Regions from separate parts of the Homo sapiens genome. Here all the other regions are linked to region 1. The links are contacts of gene promoters, found by promoter capture Hi-C in blood cells and fetal thymus (Javierre and others, 2016). All regions are on one chromosome and are shown on one strand. Each heading gives the region's core, a stretch centred on a gene start or on the middle of the fragment in contact. The rest is flanking DNA. Distances are from core to core; before and after follow the strand shown. Region 1 holds the start of ZNF620 (zinc finger protein 620). Region 2 overlaps TRAK1 (trafficking kinesin protein 1). Region 3 has its middle 10 kb from the start of TRAK1. Region 4 has its middle 34 kb from the start of TRAK1. Region 5 has its middle 64 kb from the start of TRAK1. Region 6 has its middle 33 kb from the start of ULK4. Region 7 overlaps ULK4 (unc-51 like kinase 4).

Evidence for each region. The method cuts DNA at HindIII sites, captures the fragments that hold promoters and counts their contacts. A CHiCAGO score of 5 or more calls a contact.
Region 2: a contact is called between a fragment that was not itself captured here and the fragment with the promoter of ZNF620 in region 1, in 2 of 17 cell types (M0 macrophages and total CD4 T cells). The highest score is 6.3, in M0 macrophages.
Region 3: a fragment that was not itself captured here is called in contact with the fragment with the promoter of ZNF620 in region 1 in 3 of 17 cell types (activated CD4 T cells, total CD8 T cells and naive B cells); the score reaches 8.2 in activated CD4 T cells.
Region 4: a fragment that was not itself captured here is called in contact with the fragment with the promoter of ZNF620 in region 1 in 1 of 17 cell types (fetal thymus); the score reaches 5.1 in fetal thymus.
Region 5: a contact is called between a fragment that was not itself captured here and the fragment with the promoter of ZNF620 in region 1, in 6 of 17 cell types (activated CD4 T cells, naive CD8 T cells, total B cells and 3 more). The highest score is 9.0, in activated CD4 T cells.
Region 6: a fragment that was not itself captured here is called in contact with the fragment with the promoter of ZNF620 in region 1 in 1 of 17 cell types (total CD4 T cells); the score reaches 5.4 in total CD4 T cells.
Region 7: a contact is called between a fragment that was not itself captured here and the fragment with the promoter of ZNF620 in region 1, in 2 of 17 cell types (non-activated CD4 T cells and naive CD4 T cells). The highest score is 6.3, in non-activated CD4 T cells.

Annotation. Positions count from the first base shown.
Region 1 is chr3:40,504,368-40,507,874 of GRCh38, forward strand. It overlaps ZNF620 (zinc finger protein 620), which reads left to right and starts at 1,672. Exons shown (of 5, transcript NM_175888.4): 1 at 1,672-1,771; 2 at 1,937-2,009. The coding sequence starts at 1,986. The HindIII fragment of the contact is 1,073 bases long and covers 600-1,672 here.
Region 2 is chr3:42,096,004-42,099,510 of GRCh38, forward strand. All of the region lies in intron 1 of TRAK1 (trafficking kinesin protein 1), which reads left to right. Among named protein-coding and RNA genes, the nearest start is that of TRAK1, 6.4 kb to the left of the region's middle. RefSeq lists an enhancer at 2,113-2,935. The HindIII fragment of the contact is 1,218 bases long and covers 1,058-2,275 here.
Region 3 is chr3:42,079,565-42,083,071 of GRCh38, forward strand. It overlaps a transcript of TRAK1 not described here. Among named protein-coding and RNA genes, the nearest start is that of TRAK1, 10 kb to the right of the region's middle. The HindIII fragment of the contact is 181 bases long and covers 1,835-2,015 here.
Region 4 is chr3:42,055,696-42,059,202 of GRCh38, forward strand. It overlaps a transcript of TRAK1 not described here. Among named protein-coding and RNA genes, the nearest start is that of TRAK1, 34 kb to the right of the region's middle. RefSeq lists an enhancer at 1,828-1,937. The HindIII fragment of the contact is 4,315 bases long and covers 1-3,507 here.
Region 5 is chr3:42,025,481-42,028,987 of GRCh38, forward strand. It overlaps a transcript of TRAK1 not described here. Among named protein-coding and RNA genes, the nearest start is that of TRAK1, 64 kb to the right of the region's middle. The HindIII fragment of the contact is 195 bases long and covers 1,559-1,753 here.
Region 6 is chr3:41,992,854-41,996,360 of GRCh38, forward strand. No RefSeq gene overlaps it. Among named protein-coding and RNA genes, the nearest start is that of ULK4, 33 kb to the left of the region's middle. The HindIII fragment of the contact is 8,427 bases long and covers 1-3,507 here.
Region 7 is chr3:41,948,568-41,952,074 of GRCh38, forward strand. All of the region lies in intron 2 of ULK4 (unc-51 like kinase 4), which reads right to left. Among named protein-coding and RNA genes, the nearest start is that of ULK4, 12 kb to the right of the region's middle. The HindIII fragment of the contact is 2,606 bases long and covers 269-2,874 here.

The DNA.
Region 1 (3,507 bases), core at 422-2,921:
AGCAGAAGATTTAACTTTGATTAAGTCCAATTTATCATGTTTTTTTCCACTGGCTAATACTGTTTAGAATTTGTGGTGTATATGTATGTACGTTTATGTGCACCCACTCATGGTAAATGTTCATTTTAATAGGTTTAGCGAAGGGACAGTATGCACATGTATGTCCTTGTCATGCCATTGTTTCTGGAAATCTAATTATTTAAAACAAGTGCTGTGCATAAACTTTAAAGTGAAAATACTATAGATTTTATAAAATGAACTGTTTCTGTGACAGTTAAAATCTCTGTGCTAGGTGGCCCCACAATGGCTCCCAATGGTTCTCATATCCTGGCATTCAAACCTTGTGTATCTCTTCCCACACTGAATCATGACTAATCTGAGGAGAATGTATTGAGGAAATCATGATGCATGATTTCCAAAACTAGGTCATAAAAGCTTTGGCCTTGGCCTCTTGGATTGCTCACTTTGGGAGAAAGCTACATGCCATGTTGTGAAAACCCTCACATGGGAAGGAACTGACGCTTCCTGCCAACAACCAGCACCCACTTGACAGCCATGTGAGTAAACCACCTTGGAGGTGGATCCTCCAAACTCAGTCAAGCTTCAGATGACTTCAGCCCCACATGACACCTGACTGCAACCTCAGCAGAGACCCTCAGCCAGTACCACCCAGCCAAGCTGCTCTTGAATTCTGGGTCCACAGAAACTGTCAAAAGATAACAATGTTTATTGTTTTTAGCCACAAAGCATTAGAGTAGTTTATTATCCAGCAGTAGATACATAATATACTCTCCATGGCAGGACTTGTTTTGAAAGTGGTGGATAAATCTAATTCCTGTGGAAGGAATAACTAAAATCTGTTTCCAGGCTGGGCCGGGACACACATCCCAGTACAGGGCAGGAAAGGGCTCTAAGCCAAATGTTAATAGCTCTTTCGCTAAACTTCGAAAATTGTCCTTAAAAAAATCTATTTCCCTAAAGCACGCCACATATTGGAGTCCCAGCAGCACCTATTTTGTGTCTTCAAAAAACACAATTGGAAAACAAAACAATACAAACTCACGAGTACATACTATGTGCCAGGCACAACTGTAAATAATTTACCTATCAATTAACTAATTTAATGAATTAACCCTGAACAGCCTCAAGAGGTTGGTACCACCATCATAATACCCATTTAATAGACAAGGAAACCGGGGCAAAGAAACTTGCTGCAGGTCACACAACTAGCAAGTGGTGCAGCTGGGTTTCTGGACCTACGTAGTCCATACACATTCGGCCTTCTGAGTAATGGGTTCGCCTTTCCCCACACCCACTTTTCCCACTGCAGCGCACCCACACAATCCAGACAGTTTTGGCGCATGTGAAGGGCGCGATGGTCCCTTCATTATCTGGAAGGACACCCAGAGTGGCAAATGCCAGATAACCACGAATAATACCCAGGATAGTAACCATTCTGTGGCCTGAGCTGGCCAGACGTCATGCCCCGAAGGAGCTACCAGGTGTGGGCGCTGCAGGACCCCTGCCTGGGGCCGCCCGCTCGGGCCCGTGTTGTCTCAGGCAGTAGGGACACTGGCGCTGACGGCGGGGGTAGGAAACCACAGAGACTGGCAACTTCCCAGGTTCCTAGAGAGGAGGGGCATGGAAAACGCACTTCCGGCGGAGGGTCTCAAGCTTTCCCCGGTGTCGGCGGCAGGTGGAATTTCCACGCTTTATCTGCGCCTGCGCCGCGCGGGATTCGCGGTCCGAGCTGAAGAGGTTCGCGGTCCGGGTAACTGATTGGTTTTCCTGGGGCTTGTTCTGCCTGGTTTTGCAACCCCTTTGCTTTTTGGGGTGAGGAGTTGGCGGAAAGGAGAGGGGCCCAAGTAGCACAGAGGGCATTTGCGGGGTGCGAGGCAGCATCAATCTCACCGGTGCTTCTTTATTTTCTCTTCAGTTTCACTTCTCCGAACCCTGAGGCAGTGTGTGAAGCTGGGACGCCAGCCATGTTCCAGACCGCTTGGCGCCAGGTGAGTGAGCATCCTCTCCCTCCCTCCCACCCTTTAGATGTCAAGAGAGAGCAGGTGTCACCTCTGCATTCAGATCTTGAGTTGTGTAGGCCAGTGGCTTCCATTGTGCATCTGTCACTATGAGAGGGATGGAGAGGTGAGAATGCCCAAATTAAGACTAGAAAACTAGTGAGTGTGGGGGGATTGGTTGGGATTTGGCATTTGAAGCCAGCTTAAAAATAAAAATTATGAAATGTGGAAATCTGCATTATTACATCCAATAAAGACCCCTTTCACCCTAGTCCGCAGGCTTGGAGAAGTACTTACTTCTTCAGTATAGCAATTCTAGTAACTGTTTTGTAGATTCCATTGTATTTTCTACATAGGTCATCTATGAGTAAAGATAGTTTTACTCCTTTCTTTCCAGTCTGGATGCCTTTTATTTTATTTTGTCTTGCCTTACTGCACTGGCTAGAAGCATTATTTCAATATTGAACAGAAGTGGTGAGAGCAGATATCTTTGTCTTATTTATGCTTTTAAAGTGAAAGCATTCAATCTTTCACACTGAAGACTGATGTTCACTGTAGGTTTCTTGCTTTTTTGTTTTGTTTTGTTTTGTAAATGTCCTTTATCAGGCATTCTCTTCTAGTACTACTTTGGTGAGAGTTTTTATAGGAATGGATGTTGGATTTTGACAATTGCTTTTTCTGTGTCTATTTAGATGACCATATGGTTTTTTTTTTTTTTTTTTTTTGAGATGGAGTCTTGCTCTATCGACAGGCTGGAGTGCAGTGGCGCGATCCTGGTTCACTGCACCCTCCACCTCTGGGGTTCAAGCGATTCTCCTGCCTCAGCCTCCCGAGTAGCTGGGACTACAAGCACGCGCCACCACACCCAGCTAATTTTTGTATTTTTAGTAGAGACCAGGTTTCACCATGTTGGCCAGGATGGTCTCGATCCCTTGACCTCGTGATTCCCCCACCTTGGCTTCCCAAAGTGCTGGGATTACAGGCGTGAGCCACCGTGCCCAGCCTCTCTTTGTTAATGTGGTGAATTACATGATTTTTCTTTCAAATATTAAACCAACTCTGCGGTGGGATAAAACCGACTTCGTCATGGTGTATTATTATTTTATTAGTACTATATATTGAATTTAATTTGTTAAAATTTTATTTAGAATTTCTGTATCTATGTTTATGAGGTATTGATTTGCAGTTTTCTTTTCTTGTGATGTCTTTGTTCCATAGAATGAGAAATATTCCCTCCTCTTTAATATTTTGGAAGAATTTATGTAGAGTTGACTGCATTTCTTCCTTAAATGTTTGGTAGAATTCAACAGTGAAGCTATCTAGGCATGGGGTTTTCTTTCTGATAAGGTTTTTAAGTACAGTTTTGAGTCCTTTGGTAGATACAGGGGCTACTCTGGTTATCTCTTTTTATTTATTTATTTTTATTTTTTGACAACGGTTTTCTCTATGTTGCCCAGGCTGACCTCAAATTGGGCTCAAGCAATCCTCC
Region 2 (3,507 bases), core at 417-2,916, 1.6 Mb after region 1:
TTGGTGGTGCCTTTATCTTGGACTTGTCAGTCCCCAAAGCTGGGAGAAATAAATGTTTGTTGTTGACAAGCCACCAGTTTATGGTATTTTGCTCTAGCAGCCTGAACAGGCTAGGAAAACTCAGCAGCTCTCAGTCCTGGAATACCTAATATTTCTTTTTAGAAGAAGCATTTTGTAATTCATTTTTTTGTTACCCTTAAATGAAATTCATAGATAACGAATCCTCTTAAAAACATAATTTTATTTATTTTATTTCTATCTTTTTTTGAGATGGAGTCTTGCTCTGTTGCTCAGGCTGGAGTGTAGTAGTGTGATCTCAGCTCACTGCAACCTCTGCCTCCCGGGTTCAAGTGATTCTCCTGCCTCAGCCTCCTGAGTAGCTGGGACTATAGATGTGTGCCACTACACTCGGCTAGTTTTTTGTGTTTTTAGTAGAGATGGGGATTCGCCATGTTGGCCAGGCTGGTCTCGAACTCGTGTCCTCAAGTGATCTGCCCGCCTCGACCTCCCAAAGTGCTGGGATTACAGGCGTGAGCCACCGCGCATGGCCAAACACATAATTTTAAAAGAATCAGTATAATGCCTTACCGTACTATAAAGGAGAAACTAAAGAAAAATGACATAGCTTGTATTTCAAATGTCGCTGAGGGGACGTGGCCTCATTAGAACACATAATGAGCAATTAGGCCCTGCCCCTGCAGGTAGAATTGCTGTGAAGGGGGCAGCCACAAAGGCAGTGAAGCATGCTGGCTACTCAAGGGTCCAAGACAGAACCACTGCAGCAGCCCCCATTGATGGGTGCTGTAAGTTGTTTTCAGTTCTTGCATTTTAAATGGTGCCTCAAGCACCATTCCTACTCACTCTTAGAAGCATTGGCTTAAACAGTGTGCAACAAGAAAAATGCATACAGTTTAAAGAATACACTTTGAGGTTTTCCACCTTCATCTTATTCCCAGACCTCTGCCTTTCCTCCCAAGGGAATGACTGTTGCTTATCTTTCCAAAAATGTTCTGTGCATGCGTTTGTATGGTATGTATGTCCCCTCCCCTGCTTTGAAAGCTTTCTACACACGGGAACATATACTAAACATATTGTTGCCTTTTCTCCTCAGTAATCTATATTGGAGACCTTTCCACTTAGCATACATCCATCATATTCTTTTTGCTGGCTGCCTATTTTTCATTGTCTATAAATCCCACGATTGATTTAATTAATTCCCTATTGTAAGACAAGTAGATTGTTTCCAGTATTCTGCAAATACCACTGGGTTGGGGATAGCCATGTTCCCACATATTTAAACAAATAAGTAATGAATGTACTTGTGTGAATTCCTAGGCTGGGGACTGTAATTTGATGGAGTGAGTCATAGAGGTTGTATATGGTGTGTGTTCAGACGATGTGGGAGAAGTGTGTGGGCGCTCACTGTCTGCACCCCTGGTATGAGCACATTTGCTCTTTGCCAGCTGAGGTGTATAAACGGCAGCAGCCCCTGATCTTGATTTACGTTCCTCAGTGTGTAGAGGCTGAGCATTTTCGGTATTTCCTGGAGGAATTTTTATTGTCTTTTCTGTGATCTGAGATAAATGCTTAACAGTTTCTACTTTTAGCTCATGGAGTGATTGCCTCCAAAATTCTAATTACTATTTATATCCTATTTTTATACTTTCCTTTCCATCCCTCATGTAGCACATCACTGCCTGGTAGGCTTGGATTTCGAATTCTGGATTTTGAATACCATGCGGCACCTGCTGGGCGTACCTGAACTTTATATCAAGGACTCACCACACAGTTTATGATTTGAGTTTTTAAATTTCCCAGACATCTGCCTTAGAAAACAGACCAAACACATACTGATAGGTTGGTCCATCAGAGTGTGCTCTGGGAAGGGTTGTGGAGGTCTCACCTTGTAAACTGCTGTGATACTGACAACTATGTGAACACCAGGGTCCAGTGATGTTTCTATTTCCGGAGGAGTATCTTGGAGGACCTTTAAGTTTTCCTTTCCTCCCTTCGTTTCATTTTTTTTCTTCTCACCCTCTTCTCTCCTCCATCTCTCCTTACCCACTTTCTGTCTGTTTCCTCTCCCCTCCCCTCCTCCTCACCCTGATATCTGTCCTTCCCCTTGCTGTCTCCTTTCTTCTCTTCCTCCATCCCCACTCCCCTCCTTTCTCTGCTTCTCTCCACCTCCTCTTCCTTGAAGAAACAATGGCTTTCTTTTTTTTTCTTTTTAATAATTATACAGCTGAGGTGGATCTAGGTTGGTGACGCCTTTAGAAGCTTTGCAGCATTCAGTAGAGCTTCTTAAGTACAGGCAGCAGGCACTTCACGGGTCGTACTGGGTTAATGTTCTTTTGTGCTTTTCCAGCACATGGAGGAAGGGAGGTTGGGCCTGTGGTCAACTGACCCTTTCCCAGTTGAGTCTGCAGGTTGTGAGTGTGCAGTAAGTCTTTTGAATTATTAGCTGGAGTTAAATGGGAAGGAAGAGGTGAGGATATCAATAACGTGAAGCAGGAAGGCTGAAGACCGTGAGTTCTGTGGAGGGAACCTGACCTGCGGGAGAGAGGGAGGGAGAAAGAGAACAGAGAGCTCCAGCCAGCTCACCCTTTGGGGTGACTGGAAGCTGCCTAGAAGGTGGTTTTGCCCTAATTTACAAATTTACTGCCCTTTTGAGGCCTTATCTGGTCCAGGCTCACTTCCTACTCTGCTACCTTCTATCATGGTGTTGGAAAAGAAGGAGCGCCTAGCAGGGTGGGCCTTTTGAGCATGGGAGTCCACAGTGTACCCCTTGGAGCCCAGTTGCAGGGAGAGCAAGATGGACAGGTGGTTTCATCCAGAATTGGGTTTTGCTGTATGGGTGCCGTGAAAGTCCCACGAGAGTGAGGGAGGCCGAGCCTTAGGCACCAGCGTTGCTGGAGCCAAAGGGCTGGGGGATTCCAGCTGGACAGGAAGTGGGCGGTAGAGGCCATGCAGAGGAATTGAGGGGCTGGGGGTCTCCATGGAATAGCGGGGATAACTGAGGGAGAGCTGTGGGGGAAGGGGGTTGCAGTCAGGGAGGGGGTATCTAAATTCCAGATTTCAGAGGTGGCCCGGGTGTGGCTGGCAGAAGTGGCATGTGATAGGAGGGCCGTGGAGGTCCCAGACTTGAGAGCTGGGGAGTCAGGTGGTGTCAGGTGTAGGGGTGGCAGTGGCAGCCTGGATGAGTGGCTGCACTCGGTGGAGAGGACGGCCGCCAACCTCTACCGGGGCGGAGTTGCTGATGGGTGGACGAGTGGGCATAGGCGGGGGTAACCCAGCTGGATGGCCTGAGTCTCAAGCGAGCAAGGATTTTTAAAGGCAAATGGGAGGAAATGAGAGGGGGAGGTGGCCCAAGGAGCCAGAGGATGCTGGCACCAACTCCAGACCTGAGTGCGGCAGCTCAGAGCAAGACCCTAATCTTGACCTTCCAGGAGGTTTAAACCCTAGTTTGATTTTGACCTAGATGATGGAACGTTTGCGTGGTACGAACTG
Region 3 (3,507 bases), core at 675-3,174, 1.6 Mb after region 1:
CTGCCTTCGGGTTCAAGCAATTCTCCTGCCTCAACCTCCCGAGTAGCTGGGACTACAGGCGCTCACCACCATGCCTGGCAATTTTTTTGTATCTTTAGTAGAGATGGGGTTTTGCCATGTAGGTCAGGCTGGTCTCAAACTCCTGACCTCAGGTGATCCGCCCTCCTCGGCCTCCTAAAGTGCTAGGATTACAGGCGTGAGCCACTGCGCCCTGCTGGAAGCTCCTTTTTTTTTGTTGTTTTTTTAACCCCTTGCAAAATCAGTGATTTATTGTTTACAAAGGGCAGCTCTGTCTGCTCGTGATCTCCTACTGGAAGTTACCTGTGTGTGGGTGAGAATAGTTTCACAATCATTGCACCAGGGAGTGGAGAAGGACTTACCAGGGTGCACAAATCCTTCTGCATTTCCACCTGCCCTCTTTTGTACTTCCTGGAGTGGTATAGCTGGAAGGCAGTGTGTTGAAGGTTGCTCGATCCCTTCCTTGTCCAGATGAGGGGTCTGAGGCCCAGGGACATAACACAGTTTCCTCAGTGTCACACAGCTTTGAGTTTTAGTTAAGGTTCTGAGTCACAGAAATGACATCGGTTGAGGGTAGCGGGGAGAAAATATTAGGAACTTGCACACGTGTATTTTGTCAGCAAATTTGAGTTCAGTAGCAAACTGGCATAACGTTGAACAACCGTGCGTTAAGTACTCTTGACAAACTGGGGGCCGGAATTGTTGATCATTGAGTTGAGAAGAGTGGGGCAGGGGACCTGGGCCACCCACCCCAGGCTCAGCTTCCATGTATACTTTATCCTACTACTATTCCTGGCACCTCTTTTGCTGAAAAATTGACCTGGTTGCAGAATTTCTCACTCCTCTGCTAAGAAAAATCCTGCCTTCCTGCAGCTCTCTAGGCAGAATTCAGTAAACTAAACAGAGGCGCTTTCATCTCTCAGGGCCATGCCATCCACTCTCACTTTTCTTAAGCCTTGTTTGTTTCCTCTGCCTGAAAGAAGCCTTTTGCCTGGTGTGCCAGGGTTTGCTGGAGCCAGAGAACATCCAGGGCAGTGGATGCTTTGTTCCTGAGCCCCTGTGAAACCTCAGAAATGCCTGTTTACATTAGAGTGAAGTTAGGCTGGCACCTTGGGGAAAGATTGTCACCTTTGCCCTACAAATTCCTGGGTGTCCCCAGAGGGCACATGCTGTGACTCATTCTTCAAGCTAGAAAGTGGGTGGAGGCCTTACAAACCAGCTTTTGAGTAGTCTGTAAATGAGGTCTCCTGATCCTTGAATTGTATCTGGGTCATTTTACATGTTTGACTATTAAACTACTCTTTTTTTTTGAGATAGGATCTCACTGTGTCACCCAGGCTGGGGTGGAGTGGCACAATCATGGCTCTCTACAGCCTCAACTTCCTGGGTTCAGGTGGTCCTCCCACCTCAACCTCCCTAGTAGCAGGGACCACAGACACATGCCACCAATCCTGGTCAATTTTTTGTATTTTTTTGTAGAGTTAGGGTTCCACCATGTTGCCCAGGCTGCTCTTGAACTCCTGGGCTCAGGCCATCCACCCGCCTGGGCCTCCCAAAGTGCTAGGATTATGGTGTGAGCCACTGGGCCTGGCCACTGTGAGCCACATTTGATGTATATTGGTCTGTGTTGAAAATGAAGTAAGGTTAAACTCGAGCCAGCCTAGAGAGCCCATGGGCTGTGGTCTGCATACTTGGAACACTTAGGAGTCCCTCAGGTGGTTTTCATTGATTTCTGTTAGTCCTCAAGGTTAGCAGTGTGAAATTTGGGAGTTTAGACCCTTTGGTTCCAGTATAAATGATAGAACCTGGGCTTTAAAGCTTCAGGGGATCCTCAGAGTCATTTGCACCAAACCCCTTCTTTCATTTGTTGTTATTTATTCTACAGACATTTACTTAGTACCTAATATGTGCCAACACCGGTCCATGCTTTCAAGGAGCACACAATTTTTTGGGGGAGATCAGCCCTGGACAAATGGTGGTCAATGGACAATGCATGAAGCTTGTGTCTGAGATAGAGAGGCATTCCCCAAAATGTACTCCATGAAACAAATGCCATGTAGATAGGTATGTGGAGAAAGGATCCATAGTAAAGTAGGTTTGGAAATGCTGGCATATGAATACTATAGTAGAACCAAGAAAGGTGCCAGATTCTGAGAATCTGGAAATTATAATGTTAATGACAGTAATTATTTTGAGAATCTAATTTGTACTAGACACAGAGGTAAGTGCCTTATATGGATAAGTGCCTTACATTTTACAGAATTCAGTAGTTTGGATGTGCCATAATTTATAACTGTTTTTCTACGAATAGAAATTTGGTTGTTTTCCACTTGAATTTACTGGGTGAAAGCTTAGTTTTGTCATTTCAAGAGGGGCCTCTCAGGCTTCTGAATAGCTTTGCCAGTTGCTGTACATGTAAAATGTTCTTTGGATTTCAGAACTGTGGCTTGTGTTTCCCTTTTGAGTCTTGAGTGAGGTGAGCATTTGCTGATGTCTCCAAATTTTGTTTTTTTCAGGAAGTGCTTATACTTAAAATATTTCTTTTGTAGCAGTATGTTTCTGGGTTAAGTGTCTGGCAGCTATAAATGGAAACATCGATACTAGGAGGAGAAACAGTAGTGATTTAGGGCTATTGATCATGATTTAGGCCATCTCCCTCATTTTATAGGTAGTGAAAGCGAAAGTTATATAAAGCTTGGTTGTAAAACCTCTTTAAGAAATCTTCACATATTAGGGCCAGGCCTGGCAGCTCACGCCTGTAATCCCAGCACCTTGGGAGGCTGAGGTGGGTGGATCACTTGAGGCCAGGAGTTTGAGACCAGCCTGGCCAACATGGTGAAACCCCGTCTTTATCAAAAATAAAAAATTAGCCTAGCGTAGTGGTGCGTGCCTGTAGTCTCAGCTACTTGGGAGACTGAGGCAGAATTGCTTGAACCTAGGAGGCCAAGGCTTCAGTGAGCCGAGATCGCGCCACTGCACTCCAGCCTGGGAGACAGAGCACAAAACCTGTCTCAAAAAACAAACAAACAAACAAACAAAAACCAGAGAAATCTTTACATATTAGAGCCTTTGTTAAAAAAAAAAACACAAAAAACCAAAATCATATTGATTTAAATGAAACTGTCTTAGTTTTCAGAAGAACAATTGCATTTTGCAAAGTGAGAAAGTATTTCCAACTTCTGTGTATGGATCAGATAGAATATGTCTAAGTACAAGTTAAAGAAGGCTTGAATGAGGGTTCAATTTGTTAATGCATTTTAAAACCTTTTCAAGACCACATTCATCATCTACTGTTTTTCTGCCTACAGCATCTTTCTATGTTGATACATTAATATCTGTTGTGATGCTTCCTCTTGGCTTGGTTGACTTGTTGATAGCTGTCGCATAATTAATGACTCGATCCTCTGTTGTGGCTTGTTAGGTTGTAGCATTTCACTGTGCCATACATCTTTGACCTATATATACTTGAGCCCGAGAGCTACAGTAAAT
Region 4 (3,507 bases), core at 558-3,057, 1.6 Mb after region 1:
TCAAGCGATCCTCCTTCCTCGCCTGCCAAAGTGCTGAGATTATAGATGTGAGCCACTGTGCCCGGCCATCCACAATAAATTTTAGAACACTTTCTTCACCCGCAAAAGAAACCCTGTATCCATTAGCAGTTACTCCCCATTTCCCCCAATCCTCTAGCCCCAGGCAACTACTAATCTACTTTATGTTTGTATAGACTTTCCTCTTTTGGACATTTGTTATACATGGAATCATACAATATGTAGTCCTTTGTGACTGGCTTTTTTCACTTAGCATAACGTTTTCAGAGTTCACCCATGTTGTAGTAGGTATCAGTACTTCATTCCTTATTATTGCTGTATAATATTCCATTGTTATGTATTTTTAATATTTAGTTTATCCTTTCATTAGTTGGTAAACTTTTGGATTATTTCCACTTTTTGGCTATTGTGAATAATGTTGCTGTGAACATCTGTAGACTTTTTTTTATTGTGGACATTTGTTTTCATTTCTTTATGTTGATACCTATGAGAGGAATTGCTAGATCATGTGGTAACTCTGTATTTAACATTTTGATAAATTGCCAGACTGTTTTCCAAAGTGGCTGCGCTATTTTACATTCCCACCAGCAGTGAGTGAGGGTTCTGGTTTGTCCATGTCCTTGCCAATGCTTGTTATTATCTGTCTTTTTGATTATAGAAATCCTTGTGGGTATGAAGTGGTATCTCATTATGGTTTTGATTTGCATTTTCCTGATGGTTAATGATGTTGAGCATTTTTTCATGTGCTTGTTGACTTTTGAAATTATTATTGAAATAATTATTGGATAACAGATGTTAAAAACATTTCAACAGAAGCAGAAATATTTTATATAATTGATTTTAAAATTATATTGAGCAAAGTTATTAGCTGATTATTAAAGAGATTATTTTACCCTGGAGAATTATTAGAAATTTTGAAATTAAAAACATTCTTTTGTTTACCCAGAAATCTAGAAGAAAGGTTAAAATTTCCACTTTTTAATATTGTCCCAAGTGCAACATAAAAGTATGCATTTTTCATATCTTAACCTTTAAATGTATGCCATGTTAGGATACAATATTGAGTGCTTGTATATTTTTGAATTCACAGTCCTTTTTTCTGCCCCGATTGTAATAATAGGCTATTCTACATCCTTCTTAATACCTTTTAGCTCAACATTTCTATTTCCAATATTAGGATTTTAAAAATAAAAATCTTGTGTGAGAGACAAAGTAAAGTACCAAAATTGCCTCAGTTAGAGGAGCCAGTTTTCTGTGGATTTGAACCAACCTGTAACCTGAGCCGTGCACAGCTGCCATGAATAGAACAGGGACCTGGTGAAGGGCACCTTCTGCCACTTTGGCCGATTGAGATCCAGCAACCTCCTGGCTGGCAGTGATCATGAAGATGGGAACTAGGACACTGGTGCATTTTAAGGTGCAGTAATTAAAGGCACTCTAAATTACTCTTTGCTGTTTAGACCACCTGGGCTGTCCAGTGCTACTTTGGATACCAAGGAAAATGGAATATTCTTATGTAAATATGGATGGACCATGAGCTCCTGGAGGGCTGGAATCCAGTTTTGTGCAATTGTTTTCTCCACAAAGACTGACAGTAGGTTCACGGTCCTGCTTCTTGAATGAAGGAAGAAGGGAAGGAATGAAGGGTGAATGATGGGAGTAACAGAAATTGATTGCCAATTCACATCCATCTCTGCCACACTTTCTTCTTTCCTAATAGAATCCAGATTTCATTCCATTCTTAAGCCTCCTTTGCAGCATGCTGGAGTAGGGGTTGAGGAGGCGTCCAGTGGGTATTGATTGGTCCAGGCCAATCACAGTGGCCCCATTCCCTTTGCTGTAGTTGTGACTGGGCCGATTGGGATCAGAACAAGTGGGCTGCAGTTTCCTGGGGAGGTTTTGTTATGTTTGCTGGTGATGCTGTATCTGCTGCTCTCATCTTGTGATCTGAGGAGAACCTGCTGGAAGGCGAGCACTGACCTGCTGTGTGTGGCCAAGCAGAAAGGGAGCAGACGAACTTAGATTCTGGGGTTGGCTCTGTCTCATTTGCATCTTGGGCAGGCCACATGTCTCTCCTCCATCAAGTGTCCTGTAACCTGGAGAACTCACCCTGGTTCACCTGACACGTGGCCCACACCATGTTAATCAGTTTGTGCTTTTATTCTTAAGTATTTGAAGGAACCAGAAAATACAACCAACTGAAAGGCGTTTTCATTTTAAATGCCTGTAAACCTGAACATGTCATTCAGTGAGCTTCCTTGTAAAGCTGAACTCAAATATCATTTCCTCCTTTACTGCTACCCAGGTTTGCCCTTCGCCCCTTGGTTGGGTTATTTTTGCCACCTTTAAGCTCTTCTGGTTTGGCTGCTGCTTCTCTTACTGCTCTGCCACAGTGGGCATTTCATTGGGAAGTGAGACTTGTGGCCGGCTTCTGGGTAAAATACTCCTTGGAACCTCCTCATCTTTAAAATATAGATAATACTCATGTACCTTGGCAGTTGTGGAGATTGACGAAGACAAGGTTTGTTTGTAAGTATGCTTTTGCCTTTAAATTTCATTTTATCATGTTCATCTTTATTATGATAACTGAGGACTGGAGGGAACCTTTATTTTTAAATTTAATTTAATTTATTTATTTTTTGAGACAGAGTCTCACTCTTGTTGCCCAGGCTGGAGTGCAGTGGTGTGATCTCAGCTCACTGCAACCTCTGCCTCCCGGGTTCAAGCAATTCTCCTGCCTCAGCCTCCCCAGTAGCTGGGATTACAGGCGCCCCCGCCACAACGCCCAGCTTATTTTTTAATGTATTTTTGGTAGAGACGAGGTTTCACCATGTTGGCTGGTCTGGTCTTGAACACCTGACCTTGGACGATCTGCCTGCCTCGGCCTCTCAAAGTGCTGGGATTACAGGCATGAGCCACCATGCCTGGCCTGGAGGGAACCTTTAAAGTCAACCTGTCCTACCTCCTGGCTGATGCAGGGATCTCCCTTTAATGTCCATTGTGGGCCTTGCCCATTGTTTGGTGGCCCATTTGAATTGTTGCGCTGAGCTCCCACCCCCACACACAACAGATCGTAAGATACGCCATTGCTTTATGTACCTCTAAGAAAGCAAAAAATGCTACAAAGTAAGCATAGTAAAGGACGATTGGCTATAAGACAAAATTCAATTTTAGAGATATTGAAATGTGAAAAAATGTGTATCTTAAGAGATTTACTCTTTACCATCTGCTCTGTGCTGCAATTTTTTTAAAGATAAAGTGCTAATTTACTGAATTTAAAATAAATCCAGGTGTGTATGCATGCGTGTATATATTTGTATGTATATGTATACACACAAATATACATACGTATGATATAAGTAGGCTTTGGACTTCAGGGAACTTTTTTTTTTTCCTTTTGAGACAGGGTCTTGTTCTGTTGCCCAGGCTGGAGTGCAGTGGTGCGATCATGGCTTGCCGTAGCCTCAACCTCCCAGGCTCAAGTGAATC
Region 5 (3,507 bases), core at 406-2,905, 1.5 Mb after region 1:
AGTGATGTCCCCATATTTTATTTCTGGTATTTGCCTTTCATGTTAAGAATGTGTCTGTTCAAAGGGAGAGGGGAAGGAGAAAAGAAGAATGTGTCTGTTCAAAGGACTGCTGGATCAGGGTAACTTAGCTCAAGAAAATGAGAAGGGGTGGTTTCTGGAAGGGGAGAATGAAAGCCGTGGAGGAAATAAAGCATGAATGTGGGGGAGGGCGGGGGCGGGGACTGCTTCTCTTGCTGGCTGCCTTCTCTCTCTGGAGAATCTGCTGGAGAAGGAGCAGTCACGTGGGTGGTGAGCTCATTAGGCTGGGGACACCAGCTGTGCTATTATTAGGGCTTTTAAAGTCCGTGGCAGATGTTCTTAGGCGGTGTTCCAGCCTTGTTCACTTCCCACATATGGCATGATACTGTACACAGAAAAAAGAGGGACTCTTTAACAAATAGCTTTTCCATGAAATGCATCACTATTTTTTTCCCATGAACTTTTTTCTTTTCTTTCTTCCTCTGTCTCTGTTTCTTTGTTTCTCTCTCTGCTGTTTGTTCTTTCTTCTTTCTCCGTTTATCTTTCTCCCTCTGTCTCTTTCTTGCTTTCCTCTATTTTTCTGTATTCTCATTCTCCCTGTCTCTCCCTCCATCCCTCCTTTCTATACTTCCTTCTTTTGTCCTTTGAGGCCCTTTTTATTTAATCCTTTGTGAAACTAGAAGAGGACTCAGAGGCACATGAAGAAAGTTTGTCTATTTTAGATTAAAAGTGAGCCTTAGCATTTCATAGAAAGTATAAGAAATGTGGGTAAGTCTCAGGGTGATCATATACTAGAGAATTTTTTTGACAAGAGCCTGTTTTGAATTGCGTGGTTAGCTTGCTGCCTCTTCACTCCTCTGGCACAGTGGTAGTTTTTGTACAGGATCGCTTTTACCTCAATGGACTGATAAGCTAGCCAGGGCACCGATTATTTTTACATACCAATTTGTGTGTTGTTTGTTTGGCTAATCACCTCTTCTGCAGCTGTTATCCTGGATCTCAGTGATCAAAGAGATCAGTGATCTCTTTTTTTTTTTTTTTTTTGAGACAGAGTCTCACTCTGTTGCCCAGGCTAGAGTGCAGTGGCATGATCTCAGCTCACTGCAACCTCTGCCTCCCAGGTTCAAGTGATTCTCCTGCCTCAGCCTCCCGAGTAGCTGAGACTACAGGCACGTGCCACCACGCCTGGCTAATTTTTGTATTTTTAGTAGAGATGGAATTTCACCATGTTGGCCAGGCTGGTCTTGAACTCCCGACCTCAGGTGATCTGCCTGCCTCGGCCTCCCAAAGTGCTGGGATTACAGGCGTGAGCCACTGCGCCTGGCCAGTGATCAACTTTTGTCAGTAAGCTTCCATGTGTAGACCCTCCTTCTCCCCTCATATTTATAGTAACCCATGTCTTAGCTTGGAGTTATAGGGTATAATCAATATCAAATTTACTTAAATAACTGCTCTGGTAGACTGACTTTCTACAGGAAATGGGCTCTTATGTGAATGTAACCTCAATGTATACTCTTTAATAAAATCTCAGAATGATGCAAGCTTCATTATAGTTGTTTCCTACTGTTTATTTCAAATTTGATATTTTGATATATTTACACTAATTTTATAGCTAAGCACAAAATTAATTACCCCATCATTTTTATTTCAAAAATAATGAGATAATATGTGCATACATTAGTGGCATATCTTACTCTAATAATGGCCACAACTGTCAGAAGTACATTTTCAGAAAAGCTTTTTGGCCGGGCGTGGTGGCTCACGCCTGTAATCCCAGCACTTTGGGAGGCCGAGACGGGCGGATCACGAGGTCAGGAGATCGAGACCATCTTGGCTAACATAGTGAAACCCCGTCTCTACTAAAAATACAAAAAATTAGCCAGGTGTGGTGGCGGGCACCTATAGTCCCAGCTACTCGGGAGGCTGAGGCAGGAGAATGGCGTTAACCCGGGAGGTGGAGCTTGCAGTGAGCCCAGATCACGCCACTGCCCTCTAGCCTGGGAGACAGAGCAAGACTCCATCTGAAAAAAAAAAAAAGTAAAGCTTTTCTAATCCAGGCGTTTTTCTTCAAAATAAAGTAAATATATCTATTTTCAAAAAGTACTTTTGTATTTTAAACATTATTTAGTTGTAGAAAATATTTTTTAAAAAGCCCCAAACCTAAACTATACAGTGAGGCCAGTATGAGAATAGAGGTACTGAAATGGGTAACTAATTATTTATTAATATGTTTATTTCCCTGCGAATTCAGAGACTGGGAAAGAAAACCAGGAACAACCATTTTTCACTTCTCTAATTTTATCTGAAGGAGGGGAATCATAAAGTAGGAAGCCTTTTATCTCAATGGCAGACTCTGTTATTTTTTTTTGAGATGGAGTTTCGCTCTCGTTGCCCAGGTTGGAGTGCAGTGGTGCGATCTTGGCTCACTGCAACCTCCGCCTCCTGAGTTCAAGCCATTCTTGTGCCTTAGCCTCCTGAGTAGCTGGGATTATAGGCGCCAGCTATCATGCCCAGCTGATTTTTTGTATTTTTAGTAGAGACGGGGTTTCATCATGTTGGCCAGGCTGGTCTCAAACTCCCGACCTCAGGTGATCCACCTGCCTTGGCCTCCCAAAGTGCTGGGATTACAGGCATGAGCCACCACCCCCGGCCACAGCCTCTGTTCTTACAAACTAGTGGATACAGGTGCCGGAACACCAGGCCGTGGGCCACGTGTTTACATGCTGCTCCCCAGTAGAGTTGCTGAGTGGTTTATGTTTATTCCGGAAATACATGGTTCACTCTGATTTTACAGGTCTTCCGCAGGTAAGAATCACCTTTGATTAGAGTCAGGGGATTCCTGGCAGAATGGGGAGCTGGAGACCCACTTAGATCAGTGATTGCTAAGTGTGAGCTGTGTGGCTTCCCTGGGCCAGGCACTGAGTTATGACAGTAAATGAGACAGTCCAGGTCTGGGGGCAGACCAAAGAGACCCAATGTAGTAATAGATGTAGGATATGATACCAGGTAGTGACTAGGGGAGAGAATGAGGTGGCAGCAGAGGTGTCTTTAGGGAGGTTATAGGTGAGCAGAGATTGAATGGGGATTGAGCCATGGGAACATATGGAGGAAAAGCTTCCCAGGCAGAGCAAACAGCAAGTGCAGAGGCCTTGGTGAGAAGGCCAGTGTGGCTGCAGTGCAGGGGACCCTGGGGATAGTGGACGTGGATGAAGCCAGGAGATAGTCAGGGGACGGCTGCATCCCACTGGCCTGCTGGCTGTTGTAAGGAGTGGGTATTTTAATCTGCATATGATTGGGAACTACTGGAGGATTCTGAGTATGGAGGAAGCTGCAGGGGAGTGACAAGAATTGATTGATTTTTAGATGATTTATTTATGAGACGGTATGTTAGTCTATTCTCACATGGCTATAAATAAATACCTAGGATTGGGTAATTTACAAAGAAAAGGTTTGATTGGCTCATGGTTCTACAGCCTGCACAGGAAGCAT
Region 6 (3,507 bases), core at 348-2,847, 1.5 Mb after region 1:
GTTCAGGCCGGTCTCAAGCTCCTGAGCTCAACTGATCCACCCGCCTCAGCCTGCCAGACTGCTGGGATTACAGGCATGTGCCACAGTGCCCAGCGAGGCCTTCTCTTTCTTTTTTTTTAAATTTAATTTAATTTTTTTTTTTTTTGAGACGGAGTTTCGCTCTATCGCCCAGGCTGGAATGCAGTGGCGTGATCTCGGCTCACTGCAAGCTCCATCTCCCGGGTTCACACCATTCTCCTGCCTCAGCCTCCCAAGTGGCTGGGACTACATGCACCCGCCACCATGCCCGGCTAATTGTTTTGTATTTTTAGTAGAGATGGGGTTTCAGTGTGATAGCCAGGATGGTCTTGATCTCCTGACCTTGTGATCCACCTGCCTCGGCCTCCCAAAATGCTGGGATTACAGGTGTGATCCACCACTCCCGGTCTCAAGCCTTCTCTTTCTAAAGGAGAATTTAACCTTTTAATATTTACTATAACCATTGATAACTCATTGGCCTTATTCTTGTCATATTTCATGTTTTGACTATATTATGCTTTATCAGTTTCTCCTCTATTGATTTAGGTGTCCTATAACAATTTCAGTTAACACCTAATATCTAAAAAAATTATATTTCTCCATAAAAACTATACACAGCACAGGATGAAACCTACATTTATTTATTTATTTATTTATTTATTTAGTTAGTTAGTTAGTTAGTTAGTTAGTTAGTTATAGAGGTTCTTGCTCTGTTACCCAGGCTGGAGTTCAGTGGCACAATCATAGCTCACTGTAGCCTCGACCTCCAGGCCTCAATCGATCCTCCCATCTCGGCCTCCCGAGTAGCTGGGACTATAGGTACGCACCACCACACCTGGCTAATTTTTGTATTTTTGGTAGAGACAGGGTTTTGCCATGTTGCCCAGGCCGGTCTCGAACTCCTGGCCTCAAGTGATCTGTCCGCCTTGGCCTCCCAAAGTGCTGGGATTGCAAGCATGAGCCTCCACGCCCGGGTGAAACCTCTCAATTTACCTCGTTTCTCCATCCTCTTCCTTCTCCTATGACTTCCCAGATTTTGTAGAAATAGCATATTTTAACTTGAAATTATATTTACTTTTTATACTTAAACATTTCTTTAGTAACCAATTCATTAACTATCTTCATCATATTACAAATTATTTAAACTTTTTCTTTTAAAAATATTTAACCACTATACTATGAGGAACAAATTATTTAAACTTTATTTTATTTTATTTTATTTTATTTTTTGAGATGGAGTCTCCTTCTGTTGCCCAGGCTGGAGTGCAATGGCATGATCTTGGCTCACTGCAGCCTCTGCCTCCCGGGTTCAAGTGATTCTCTCACCTCTGCCTCTGGAGTAGCTGGTACTACAGGCATGTGCCACCACGCCCAGCTAATTTTTACATTTTTAGTAGAGACAGAGTTTCACCATGTTGGTCAGGCTGGTCTCAAACCCCTGACCTCAAGTGATCCATCAGCCTTGACCTCCCAAAGTGCTGGGATTACAGGTGTGAGCCACCATGCCTGGCCAAATTATTTAAACTTTAAATCATACTGGTTTCAATGTTTATCACTATTTTTAAAATAAACCTTTTATATTAGAATAATTTTAGATTCACAGAAAAATTAAAAAGATAATACAAATTGTCTCCATATGCCCCACGCCCAGTTTCCCCTACTATTAACCTCTTACATTAGTATGGTACATTTGTCATAATTAATGAACATATACTGATGCTTGTTATTAATGATAGTCCTCATTTTGTTCATATTTACTTAGTTGTTACTGAATGTCCTTTTTCTGTTCCAGGATCCCATCCAGGATACCCCATTACATTTAATCATCTTGTCTCTTTGGGTTCTGCCTCTGACAGTCTTTCATACTTTCCTAGTTTCTGATGACCTTTCAATTTTGAGAATTGCTGATCAGGTATTTTTAGACTGTCACTTAATTGGTATTTGTCTGATCTTTTTCTCATAACCAGACTGGGGCTATTGGTTTTGGGGAGGAGGAGCATGGAGATAAAGGAGATAAAGTGCCATTCCCATCACATACTACTAAGGGAACATACTATTGGCATGACTTATTACTGTTGAGTCAATCTTGATCACCTCACTGCCTGAGGAAGTGTTTGTCAACTGTCTCCACTGTGAAGGTACTCTTTTTTTGTTTGTTTGTTTTTGAAACAGAGTCTCACTCTGGAGTGCAGTGGCGCAATCCCAGCTCACTGCAACCTTCATCTCCCGGGATCAAGTGATTCTCCTGTCTTCTGCCTCAGCCTCCCGAGTAGCTGGGACTACAGGTGTGCACCACCATACCCGGCTAATTTTTGTATTTTTAGCAGAGACAGGGTTTTGCCATGTTGGCCAGGCTGGTCTCGAACGCCTGACCTCAGGTGATCTGCCCACCTTGGCCTCCCAAAGTGCTGGGATTACAGGCATGAGCCACGATGCCCAAGCCATACTGTACTCTTTTGAAGGAAGTCACTAAGCACAGCCCACACAGACAGAGTGGGAGTTATGCTCCATCTGTTAGAAGTGGAGTTCTACATACTTTATTTGGAATTCTTCTGTATGGGAGATTTTTTTTCTTCTTCCCCATGTATTTATTCATTTATGTATTTATGTCAACATGGATTCATGGATATTTATTTTGTACTTTGAGTTATAATCCAATACTACTTTATTTATTTTGTTGCTCAAATTCTTCCAGCTTTGGCCACTGGAAACTTTTTCAGTTGACTCCCATGCCCCTTTGACATAAACCCCATGATTGTGGGTTTAGTTTTTGTTTTAGTATGTCTTTACTTCCTGGCATTACAAGATACTCCAGGTTCATCTTGCATCACTGTGTTTTGCATGTGGTCTTTTAGCCTTTTTATTCGGATTATTATTATTATTAATTTTTATTCATTTTTTTTTGAGTCGGAGTCTCACTTGGTCACCCAGGCTGGAGTGCAGTGACACGATCTCAGCTCACTGCAACCTCTGCCTCCTGAGTTCAAGTGATTCTCCTGTCTCAGCCTCCTGAGTAGCTGGGACTATAGGCGCATGCCACCATGCCTGGCTAATTTTCGTATTTTTAGTAAAGACGGGGTTTCACCATGTTAGCCAGGATGGTCTCTACCTCTTGACCTCGTGATCTGCCCACCTTGGCCTCCCAAAGTGCTGGGATTACAGGTGTGAGCCACCACACCCAGCCCTATTATTATTATTATTTTGAGACAGGGTCTCGCACTGTCACCTGGGCTGGAGTGCAGTGGTGCTATCTCGGCTCACTGCAACCTCTGCCTCCCGGGTGCAAGCGATTCTCCTGCCTCAGCCTCCCAAGTAGCTGGGATTGCAGGCGCCTGCCTCCACGCCCAGCTAATTTTTTTGTATTTTTAGTAGAGACAGGGTTTCACCATGTTGGTCAGGCTGGTCTCAAACTCCTGACCTCGCGATTTGCCCACCTTGGCTTCCCAAAGTGCTGGGATTACAGGCATGAGCCACCGTGCCAGCATTTTT
Region 7 (3,507 bases), core at 322-2,821, 1.4 Mb after region 1:
AAGGATTATGCACGATAACCAAGTGGGTTTATTCCTGGAAAACAAAAGATGGTTGAACATACGAAAATGTAATATACCACATTATGAAGGGGAAAAAAACGCATGATCATCTCAATTAATACAGAAAATGCACTTGGCAAAATTCAACAACCTTTAAAAAAAAAAAAAAAACTCCAAAAGCTAGGAATAGAAGGAAACTATCTCAACATAATAAAAGTCATATATGAAAAACCCAAAGCAAACAACATACTCAATGGTGAAAGAGTAAAGCTTTTCCTCTAACATTAAGAAGTAGGCAAGAATGTCTGCTTTCTCCACTTCTAGTCAAGAAGGTATAAAAAGTCCTAGCCAGAGCAATTACACAAGAAAAAAAAAGGCATCCAAATTGGAAAGGAAAAAAGTAAAATTAACTCTGTTTGCAAATGATGTGATTGATTTTATATGTAGAAAACCCTAAGGCCAGGCGTGGTGGTTCAGGCCCGTAATCCCAGCACTTTTGGAGGCCAAGGTGGGCAAATCACCTGAGGTCAGGAGTTCGAGACCAGCCTGGCCAACATGGTGAAACCCCGTCTCTACTAAAAATACAAAAAAATTAGCCAGGCGTGGTGGCAGGCACCTGAAATCGCAGCTACTCGGGAGGCTGAGGCAGGAGAATCGTTTGAACCTGGGAGGCAAAGGTTGCAGTGTGCCAAGATCACACCACTGAACTCCTGCCTGGATAGACTTTGAGACTCTGTCACACACACAGACACACACACACACACACACAAAAAGTAAAGTTTCCATAAAATAAACTGTCAAAACAAAAACAAATTTTGCAAAGTAAAATACAAAGTCCAGGTCCAACACTTAAAGATTAGCGGAATTTTTTTTTTTTTTTTTGAGACAGCATTTCACTCTTGTTGCCCAGGCTGGAGCGCAATTACACGATCTCAGCTCACTGCAACCTCTGCCTTCCAGGTTCATGCGATTCTCCTGCCTCAGCCTCCCAAGTAGCTGGGATTACAGATGCCCACCACCACACCTGGCTAATTTTTATATTTTTAGTAGAGACAGGGTTTCACCATGTTGGCCAGGCTGGTCTCGAACTCCTGACCTCAAGTGATCTGCCCCCTCCTCGGCCACTCAAAGTGCTGGGATTACAAGTGTGAGCCACCACACCTGCCTTTTTTTTTTTCTTTCTTTTTTTTTGAGACAGTGTCTCTGTCGCCCAGGCGGGAGTGCAGTGGCATGATCGCGGCTCACTGCAACCTCGACCTCCAGGGCTGAAGCAATCCTCCTGTCTCAACCTCCCAAGTAGCTGAGAGTAAAGCACACACCACTATGCCTGGCTAATTTTTCTATTTTTTCTAGAGACAAGGTTTCACCATGTTGCCCAGGCTGGTCCTGAACTTCTGGGCTCAAGTGATCTACCCACCTTGGTCTCTCAAAGTGCTGGGATTATAGGCATGAGCCACCACACCTGGCACGGTCTGATGAGTTTTGATTGATGCAGGTACTGGCAAAACTCTATTTTTATTTTTCTTTTTTTTTTTTTGAGACAAGGTCTCAGTCTGTCACTCAGGTTGGAGCACAGTGGCACAATCATGGCTCACTGCGACCCCTGCCATCCAGGCTCAAACAATCCTCCCACCTCACCTTCCCAAGCAGCTGGGACCTCAGGTGCATGCCACCACCCCCGGCTAATTTTTGAGACGGAGTCTCGCCTTGTTGCCCAGGCTGGAGTGCAGTGGTGCAATCTTGGCTCACTGCAACCTCCACCTCCTGAGTTCAAGTGATTCTCCTGCCTCAGCCTCCCAAGTAGCTGTGACTACAGGCATGTGCCACCATGCCCGGCTGATTTTTTTGTATTTTTAGTAGAGACAGGGTTTCACCGTGTTGGACAGGCTGGTCTTGAACTCCAGGCCTCAAGTGATCCGCCCACCTCAGCCTCCAAAAGTACTGGGATTACAGACATGAGCCACCGCGCCTGGCCCACTCCCAGCTAATTTTTGTATCTTTTGCAGGGACACATTTTCACCATGTTGCCCAGGCTGGTCTCAAACTCCTGAGCTCAAGCAATTCGCCTGCCTCGGTCTCTCCAAGTGCTGGGATTACAGGTGTGAGCCACAATGTCCAGGGGGAATTTCTATACATTAACAAATGTACAATCGAAAAAGGAAATCAAGAAAACAACTTCATTTATAATAGCAGCAAAAAGAATAAAACACATAGGAATTAACCAAACAGGTGGAAAGACTTACACAACAAAAACTACAAAAAACTTCTGAAAGAAATTTTTAAAAGACATAAATAGGCTGGGCACGGTGGCTCACACCTGTAATCCCAGCACTTTGGGAGGCCGAAGCGGGCAGATCACGAGGTCAGGAGATGGAGACCATCCTGGCTAACACGGTGAAACCTCATCTCTACTAAAAATACAAAAAATTAGCTGGGCATGGTGGCGGGCGCCTGTAGTCCCAGCTACTCAAGAGGCTGAGGCAGGAGAATGGCGTGAACCCCGGGAGGCGGAGCTTACAGTAAGCCGAGATTGTGTCACTGCACTCCAGCCTGGAGGACAGAGCGAGGCTTCGTCTCAAAAAAAAAAAAAAAAAAAAAAAAGACACAAATAAGTGGGAAAATATCACGTGTTTATGAATTAGAAGGCAATTTTCAGATATTAATAATTAACATTCAAATACTACCCAAAATCAATCTATCCAAAGCAATGTATGCATTCAATGCAATTCTTATCAAAATCCCAACAACTATTTTTGTGGGACTAGAAAAATCTATCCGAAAATTCATATAGAATCTCAAGGTATGTCAAACGGCCAAAACAATCTTAAAAGAAAAAAAAAAAAAAGCTGGAAAACACACACTTCCTGATTCCAAAGCTTACTACAAAGCTACAATAATAAAAACAGTATAGTACTGGCATAAAGATGGAAATATAGACCAACAGTATAGAATAAGGAGCCCAGAAATAAACCCTCACACATATGGTCAAATGACTTCCAATAAGTATTCCAAAACTATTCAATGAGGAAAGGGCAGTCTTTTCAACAAATGGTGCTGAGAAAACTGGATATCCACATGTAAAAGAGAGAAGTTGGACCTTTACTGTTGTGGTCTGAATGTGTCCCTCTAAAATTCACATTGAAACCTAATGTCCACTGTGGTGGTATTAGGAGGTGGAACCTTTAGGAGGCGATTAGGTCATCAGGGCTCTGCCCTCATAAATAAAATTAGTGTCCTTAGAATACAGCCATAAGGGGGCCTGTTTTCCTCTTCTGCCATGTGGGAACACATAAAAGGCACCATCTTTGAGAAACAGAGCAAGCCCTTACAAGACACCAAAACTGCTGGCACCTTAATCCTGGACTTCCCAGCCCCAAGAACTGTGACCAATAAATTTCTGTTATTTATAAGCTATCCAGTCTAAGGTATTTTGTCTTAGCAGCCCAAACAGAGACATTTACGGAACACCACATAGAAAATTTAACTCAAAATGAGTCAAATATCACT